3 separate regions of the Homo sapiens genome follow, and all the other regions are linked to region 3. The links are contacts of gene promoters, found by promoter capture Hi-C in blood cells and fetal thymus (Javierre and others, 2016). All regions are on one chromosome and are shown on one strand. Each heading gives the region's core, a stretch centred on a gene start or on the middle of the fragment in contact. The rest is flanking DNA. Distances are from core to core; before and after follow the strand shown.

Region 1 (2,700 bases), core at 132-2,631, 520 kb after region 3:
AATTAAAAAATTAATTTATTTGGTAGGATGTTTTGCTATTTTTGTGTTTGTCTAGGTCCATACTTTTGCTGTCATGGGAAGAAGAGCTGTTGCCTAGTGTGGATTTTATATATAACAACAAGTTACTTTTATCTTGAATAAAAAATGTTTATTCATTTTGAATAAATAGAATGTCCTTATTTTTTTAGGCCTGAGCTATTTGGAGAGCACATTGTATTTCCATTTCATATTCTGCATTCTCTGTGGTGGCCGGTTTAGTGCCACACTTTTTTTTTTTAAGTTTTTTTGAGACGGAGTTTTGCTCTGTTGCCCAGGCTGGAGTGCAGTGGCACAATCTCAGCTCACTGCAACTTCTGTCTCCTGGGTTCAAGCGATTCTCCACCCTCAGCCTCCTGAGTAGCTGGGACTACAGGCACTCGCTAATTTTGTATTTTTAGTAGAGACAGGGTTTCGCCATTTTGGCCAGGCTGGTCTTGAACTCCTGACCTCAAGTGCTCTGCTTGCCTCGACCTCTCAAAGTGCTGGGATTACAGGTGTAGTGCCACACTTTTAGTTGCATTTAATAAATATTTACTAAATAGAACGCTTCCTTGGAGTACAGAATTTTCCAGGCCCTAGGTCACTACTGTTAACATTGGTTGTTGGAAATAAGCTAAGACATGGCTCCTCAGCAAAGAGTGCTTGGGCAGCATTTGCTAATGATGCCACCATCTTATACTGAACACCAGGCGCCTCATGCTTTGTGAAAGATGGTGATGGCCACAGAAAATGAAAAACCAGCAAACACTGCCTCTCCCTCTACCCCATTACAGCAAAGCACATAGCACTCATCCTGTGATACACATGATACTTGATATTTGGTGTATATCAAAATAGTTGCTTTGTCCACTCGGGCCGCTATAACAAAATCCCTTAGACTGGGTAATTCATAAGCATCAGAAATGTATTGCTTACAGTTTTGGAGGCTGGGAACTCTAAGATGAAGGTGCCAGCAGATTCAGTGTCTGGTGAGGGCCTGTTTCTCAGATGGTGCCTTCTATGTGTCCTCATATGGCAGAAGAGGTAAACACGCTCCCTCTGGCCTCATTTATAAGGGCACTAATCCCGTTCATGTGGGCTCTTCCCTCGTAACTTAATCATCTCCCAAAGGCCCTACTTCTTAATACTGTTGGACTGTTGTACCAGGGATTACGAATTTGAGGGGGACACAAACATTCAGACCATAGCAGTTGCCTTTGCCTTGAATTACTGGAGGACCTACACTGTACTAAGGGCTACCAGACTCTAGCTATTAAGGTGAGCCTCTGGAAAGATTGAAAGGTTGACAGTTTTCCAGAATCAGTTCTCCTTTTCTAACTCTGAATTGCTGCTAAGGTAATTTTTGCATCTGCTGTGAATCAGTTTCCTCAGCCTGTGTGAACAGTTTTTCCAATTTGAATCTGTACTTATACTTACTTGTAGGGAATAGGATATTGCTAATTTGGGAGTAGAATAAGTGTGACTTCTTTTTACAAGTAATGGTCATCTGCTTGTTTGTGGGAATCTAATATAAATGGCTTTTATTTCTCTCTGGTCCTTAAAACCTTTGCAGGCTTAGGGGTCTTCAAGTTCTCCCTTTGGTCTGTGAACTCCGCACTGTGTTTACCATAGTTATGCTCCAGCACCTTGTGATATCTTGGCAGGAAAATGTCCCTTGTAAATGAGTATATTTGTTGTCAGATATTTTAGTACAGGCTGTTAGGGATCCTGTGTCTAATTGGTCATGCCCCGCTTGTTTTCAATTTAAGTGATTTGAGCTGCTGGAGCGTGAAATTATCTAGGATCACATTTGAGTTTCATATAGAATTTGCTATTGCTTTGATGCTAAGAAGAGAACAGTACTTCCACCTAATTCACTAAGTTTTAATTTAATTTTCAGCTTTGGGAACCCCTCGCTGGATGAAAGAAGCATTCTTGCCCCTCTCTATCAGTGTTGCATGTAAGTTATGCACAGCAAATACATGTGCCTGCATTGCCTTCTTTTCCAGGCTCAGGTAACAGTACATCCATTTTCTTGGCCCTCAAACTTTCTGATACCTGAGCAGTGCTTTTCATACTTTTCCAACCTAGAACCTCTGGACATCCTGAAATGGGATATCAGGGAAAGGTGAAGGCAGATAACCCAAAGCTCAGAATTCATCTCAAATTTTGTATGAATAGAAGATTGTATGTATACAGTAATACATGTTTGGTTTAATAGCAGAATATAATCACCCACACTCCCCACCCCACTGCCAAAAAAAAAAAAAGGAGTAAAATCTGTATGCCTGGTTACTACACCTGGTTACCTTGTGGTTTTAACTCCTCTCACTCACCCATCACATACCACCTGGGGTTTACATATTTCAGTTTGAAATTGTCTAAACCAAAAGTAACTTTTTCCATAAATAATAATTTATTTTGGCCAGGCACAGTGGCTCACTCCTGTAATCCCAGCAATTTGGGAGGCCAAGGTGGGTGGATCACCTGAGGTCAGGAGTTCGAGACCAGCCTGGCCAACATGGCGAAACCCCGTCTCTATTAATAATACAAAAATGAGCCGGGCATGGTGGCAGGCACCAGTATTCCAGCTACTTAGGAGGTTGAGACAGGAGAATTGCTTGAACCTGGAAGGCAGAGGTTGCAGTGAGCCGAGATTGTGCCATTGCACTCCATTCTGGG
Region 2 (2,700 bases), core at 36-2,535, 770 kb after region 3:
CCAGGCTGGAGTGCAATGGTGCTATCTCTGCTCACCGCAACCTCCGCCTCCCAGGTCCAAGCGATTCTCTTGCCTCACCCTCCCAGGTAGCTGGGATTATAGGCATGCGCCACCACGCCTGGCTAATTTTGTATTTTTAGTAGAGACGGGGTTTCCCCATGTTGGTCAGGCTGGTCTCGAACTCCTGACCTCCGGTGATCTGCCTGCCTCGGCCTCCCAAAGTACTGGGATTACAGGTGTGAGCCACCGTGCCTGGCCACACATTGTATGTTTATAGGACGACACTGATCAGGAATGTAACTGGTGGCCTAGAAAGTAAGTAGATAAGCTTCCCTTAGGCCAAAGCCTATTAAATACAATATTGTCAAGAAAAGAGAGCATGGCATTAAGAGGCATCTGACTGAGCTTCAGGCCTCAGAAAAATCCAACAAGTCTTCATGCTTCATTCCTTTGCCTGGAATAATGTTTCTAGCATTTGTTCACCATAATTTTTCTTTATTATTTGAGACTCAGTTCAAATATTGACTCCTGCAAAAGCCTCCTACACCCCTCATTCTCCCACAGCGCTCCTCTGTATTGTCCTTTTCCCTATTTGTAGTTTTCTCCTGAGATCCTGAAGGGAGGGTTTGCCCTGCATGTATTGGGTCCTCAGTGGGCTTTTACTTAATGCATGAGTATATAAATTGAGTAAATTAGTTACCAATTTAACAAGCCTGGTTATTTGTCTCTTTTCTTCTGTGTAGCTTTGGCGGTAGATTGACTATAGTAATAGAAGTGTACGATTGTTAGGGAGAACCCTGTGGAAGCAGCCTAGGTAGAAAGGCACAGCTCCCCAGGACTGCTGAGTGGGGCCTGATTGCACTCCACATTTCCGTTTTTGCTAAAGATATCACTATAATAGTATGGTACAACAATGGATCTCTCTTACTTGTTCCGAAGATTATGTAGGGTAAAGTACATTTTTGTTTTATTTTTTTGTAGAGAATGGGGGGGTCTCACTTTGTTGCTCAGGCTGGTCTCAAACTCCTGGCTTCAAGTGACCCTCCTGTCTCAGCCTCACAAAGTGCTGGGATGATAATAGGCGTGAGCCAGCACGCCTGGAGTCTGGTGTTTTTTTTAGGGTAGCAAAGCATGTCATAATTTTACAAAAATTTTCATCAAAACTGGTTAAAATAAGATTTTTGACATGTCAAGGAATAAATTTTAAACATTCCCATTAAGTATAGCAGGTTTTAAAAGAGATAGCATTTATTCATGAAGATAAGTATTGCAAGCCTGATTTTTTTAGAAATCAGAAATTTAAGGGAAAAAATGTTGAATAGTTTTCCTTATGGACTTATGCGGGGTTCTATTAAGTTTCAGATAGCAAATAACTGACTCCTAGTGTTAGCAGTTAGTGTGTTACTAGAGGGAGGCAAATGATTCCGAAATTACATCACCCTCAGTCCTGGCTTATCATTGTTTCAGGGTCAGTGTTTTAGAAATTGAGAAGCCTTGAGTTGAGTGCTTGTAAATAGTTCTTCAAATCATTGGATGTGGGTGGGGATGGTGGCTCATCCTTGTAATCCCAACAGTTTCAGAGGCCAAGGCATGAGGATTGCTGGAGGCCAGGAGTTCAAGACCAGCCTGGGCAACATAGCGAGGCTCTGCCTTTACAAAAAAATTTTTTTTAATTAGGTGGGTGTGGTGGCATGTGAGTGTGGTGGCATGTGCCTGTAGTCCTAGGTACTTGGGAGGCTGAGGCGGGAGGATCCCTTGAGCCTAGGAGTTCCAGGCCACAGTGAGCTATGATCATGCCATAGCCACTGCCCCCTAGCCTGAGCAACAGAGTGAGAACCTGTCTTAAAAAAAAAAAAGCAGTGGATATTAGCTTTTAGGCATTCTTTTGACTTTGACATCTAATTTTTAAATTTTAAATTGTAGAAAGTTAAGAATTTCTTTGTAATATTGTATGAAGAGGTATTTTGAAGGTAAAGGAAAATGAATTAGCATTTTAAAATATATTTTTCTTCCACTTACTTAACTTTGTCATTTTCAGTGGGGTCTTCAGAGACTCTGTGAACAAATCTTTTTTCTAACTTTCCAGTGGCTGCATCTCAAAGCCTGTTTGTAATGATGGCTGTCGTGTTATTTATGGATAGACAGATTCTTTTTGGAAGGGATGCACAAGTAGTGAGAATTAATCTTTTACAGTCTCCTTACCAATCCTCCTCTCCCATGGTAGCTGAATTAGTTGAAGGAAAGAAGCTTTTGTCTTCATTTTTTTATGAAATAGTTCATTTATGAAACCATGGTCTGGTCATAGAACTAAATTAAAAATATATTCTTTAACTTATTGAAAAATCAAATGGACATTTGTCTTACCCTTATATTTCTTAATCAGTTACCAATTTGTAAATATCTTAAATTAATCCTCTGCTCTCCATTCTCCTTGCCATTTACAACATCACTTTTTGTCCGGATTTATTGCATTTCTCTGTTATGTGGTCCTTTCCATCTTCCAATATCAGCTCAGTATTTTCCTGCATAAAATTCTTAGTTTCCTCAAAGCCCTTGTTATTATATGACCTAGCCTTCTTCCCAGTCATCAATTCTGCCATTATCGATAATTGAAGACATTCCACTGTCTCCTGGCTTCCATTGATGTTAAGTCAGGTATGCGTTGTAATTGCAGTACTTGCGTAGTTGATATTCTTTCTG
Region 3 (2,700 bases), core at 111-2,610:
GCCATCATCCCCACACCAGCTCTCCAGGTGGCAGCCAGAGTGATCTTACAAAACCGTAGGTCAGGTCATTGCCCCCTGTCAGACTCAAGCCCATCACAGCCCTTGCTATGCTGACAGGCCCATCCCACCCCAGCCCGCTCCCCCCACCACCTGCCCCCCTCCGCCACCTCACCTGTGCCTTCTGCACGCCTCTCCCACCACTCCCCCTCCCTCCCTTTACTCTGGCCACTCTGAATGTCACTGGTCCTCCTTGAGCCCTCCTGAGCCCTCTGCCCAGAGTAATGCCAGAGTGGAGGCCACAGCTGAAGGCAGAGGCTGTTGGCCTGGGGTGGAGAGGGGAGATTCCTCTGGGTGGAAGGTGACATTGGGCAGCCTTGGATGAAGTGAATACCTGGTGTGGGGAAGCAAAAATAAATAGAGAAACAAACGGATTAATTTTGCTTCTTTCCAGGGACTTGATTTTCTACAAGTGCTGCTCCAAGAGGCTTCTACACCCCCGCAGGGAGGCAAGCACCGTTTTGAGGTGGCCGGGCTGGCGAGGAGGTGCAGACCCCAGCCAGCTGGAGGGGCTCTGCCCTGATGGCGTTCCCACTCCCACCTCATTCGCAGGGCGCCGGGGAGGGCTGCAGGTGTTCTATTCCCACCCGGCTTGCAGCGCAAGGAGGGGAATCGCCTGACACCTTCCCCTTCTCCTCTGCCCCGCTTCCTTTCTCTGCTCCCACAGGTGGAAGTCACCAGCGGAAACAACCCTTCACTGTATGGAGGGCTGGGAGAGAGGGGCCAAGAGGGCCCCGGGAGAGCCACTGGGCGGCAGGCAAGGGGCGGGGCAGTCTCCCTTCCGGCTTCCGGGACCGAAGGGTGAAGGGCAAGGGGAGCTCAGGGAATGAACGAGTGCTCCCGACTAATGTTTAACCCACGACTCCGAGACTCCGACTGGTCACAGTCCTGCAGACCTCCAGGTCCTGCACAGGCGACGCAGCGCTCCACTGGCCCGGAATGCGCACCCCGGGGGAAATGGAAAGTGCCATTGAAATGTCAGATGTCACCGTCTTCATCAGCACTCTTGGAATTTTGGCCAAAGTGGCTTCTTCTTTTGCTGAGACTTGACTCACTCCCGGCAGAGGGATGATAGCGGCCTTGCCCCGAGCGTTTATCCGGCTGCAGGCGTCATTCTTGGTCGCCTGTGTGTCCAGAGCCCCAGCGCAGGAAGGGAGCGCAATTCCCACCGCGCCCGCTGGGTGGCGCTAGCGCCGCACCGTGTCCCGGGATGAGGGGAAACCGCGCTGCCCAGTCAGTACCCCGACGCCCCCGCGCCCCCGCCGGGCCCCGCGCGCTGCAGCCACCGCCTCTTCTCGGCTTCCTCTTGCTTTACAGTAACTCTCCTCCTGGGGAAAAGGCTTTTCACGGAGCAGGCTCGGAGCCTACGGGGCTGGCCTCGGACTGGATGGGGGTAAGGACGGGTGGCGGCGCTCGCGCCGAGCGAACGGAGGGCTCAGGCGGCCGGTGATCAGGGACGGGCTGCGGCCGCCGTCTGGGGTGAGAGGCCCACCCAGAGCTCTGGGCCAGGGCTCGCGGCTCTCGTGCAGATGCTGGGCCGGGAGGTGTGGGGAGGGGGCTTCCCAGGCGGGGCAACCGGAGGGGAATGGGGTGTGCAGGAGGGAGGGGAGGCGTGGAGCGCCCGGCCTGCAGGCACTGGGCGGCGCTCTCCAGCCTCCTCTTCTCCCGCCGGGTGCCTGGTGGCTTGGCCTCCCCTCCAGAGCTTCGCATATCCTGGCGGGAGCCGGCGCTCTCTCTCCATACTTAGGACTTGACCCTTATTCCACACCCGGGCAGGGAATCATTTGCCCAATCCGAATTTGATTTTCTGCTTGTGAGAGGAGAAACTGGTGACAGTGTCGCATGGACACTGTCGGGGAAGCCGAGACGTAGACCTGGAAGCCTGTACCAGAGGCCTTGTGGACAGCTTTGGAGCATGCATCTTAAGGCACACCACCGGTTTCTGCTGCTTTGGCACAGCCACGCAGCACCTAGGATGCTTCTCTGCACGCAGCAGAGGCCTAATCCGTGCACCCTCTGACGGTGTTGGAGGGAGCTGGGGAGCAACATCAGATTAATAGCCCCTGGGCTATTTGTATGACGTGCAGATTTCACCCTCTCATTCTTAAAGGGTGAAAGGCTGCAATTCAGAAAGGCGAAGATGGGGCCCAGGAATCTGCAATCTGCGTGGGGTTTTTTTTTTTTTTATGAAGTCTTGTTCTGTCGCTCAGGTTGGGGTGCAGTGGCGCGATCTGTGCTCACCGCAACCTGTCTTCCAGGTTCAAGCGATTATCCTGCCTCAGCCTTCTGAGTAGCTGGGACTACAGGTGCATGACACCACACCTGGCTAATTTTTGTATTTTTAGTAGAGATGGGGTTTCACCATGTTCGCCAGGCTGGTCTTGAACTCCTGACCTCAAGTGATACGCCCACCTTGGCCTCCCAACGTGCTGGGATTACAGGCATGAGCCACCGCGCCTGGCCAGAGTTTGCATTTTGTTGTTGTCGTTTGTTTGTTTGAGACGGAGTCTCGCTCTGTGGCCCAGGCTGGAGTGCAGTGGCGCCATCTCGACTCACTGCAACCTCTGCTTCCCAGGTTCAAGCGATTCTCCTGCCTCAATCTCCCAAGTAGCGGGGATTAACAGGCGTGCCACCACCATGCCT

Evidence for each region. Contacts are between HindIII fragments. The CHiCAGO score rates a contact against its expected background, and 5 or more counts as called.
Region 1: a contact is called between a fragment that was not itself captured here and the fragment with the promoter of C1orf220 in region 3, in 1 of 17 cell types (fetal thymus). The highest score is 6.8, in fetal thymus.
Region 2: a fragment that was not itself captured here is called in contact with the fragment with the promoter of C1orf220 in region 3 in 1 of 17 cell types (erythroblasts); the score reaches 5.5 in erythroblasts.

The regions. Positions count from the first base shown.
Region 1 is chr1:179,064,882-179,067,581 of GRCh38, forward strand. FAM20B (FAM20B glycosaminoglycan xylosylkinase) reads left to right here. Exons shown (of 8, transcript NM_014864.4): 7 at 1,919-1,978. Among named protein-coding and RNA genes, the nearest start is that of TOR3A, 16 kb to the right of the region's middle. The HindIII fragment of the contact is 2,903 bases long and covers 1-2,700 here.
Region 2 is chr1:179,313,626-179,316,325 of GRCh38, forward strand. All of the region lies in intron 2 of SOAT1 (sterol O-acyltransferase 1), which reads left to right. Among named protein-coding and RNA genes, the nearest start is that of SOAT1, 21 kb to the left of the region's middle. The HindIII fragment of the contact is 1,919 bases long and covers 327-2,245 here.
Region 3 is chr1:178,541,436-178,544,135 of GRCh38, forward strand. C1orf220 (chromosome 1 putative open reading frame 220) reads left to right here and starts at 1,361. Exons shown (of 3, transcript NR_033186.1): 1 at 1,361-1,450. It overlaps LOC124904460 (a long non-coding RNA gene), which reads right to left and starts at 1,210. Exons shown (of 2, transcript XR_007066748.1): 1 at 599-1,210; 2 at 1-391. RefSeq lists an enhancer at 1,056-1,115 and silencers at 1,166-1,495, 1,526-1,595. The HindIII fragment of the contact is 17,585 bases long and covers 1-2,700 here.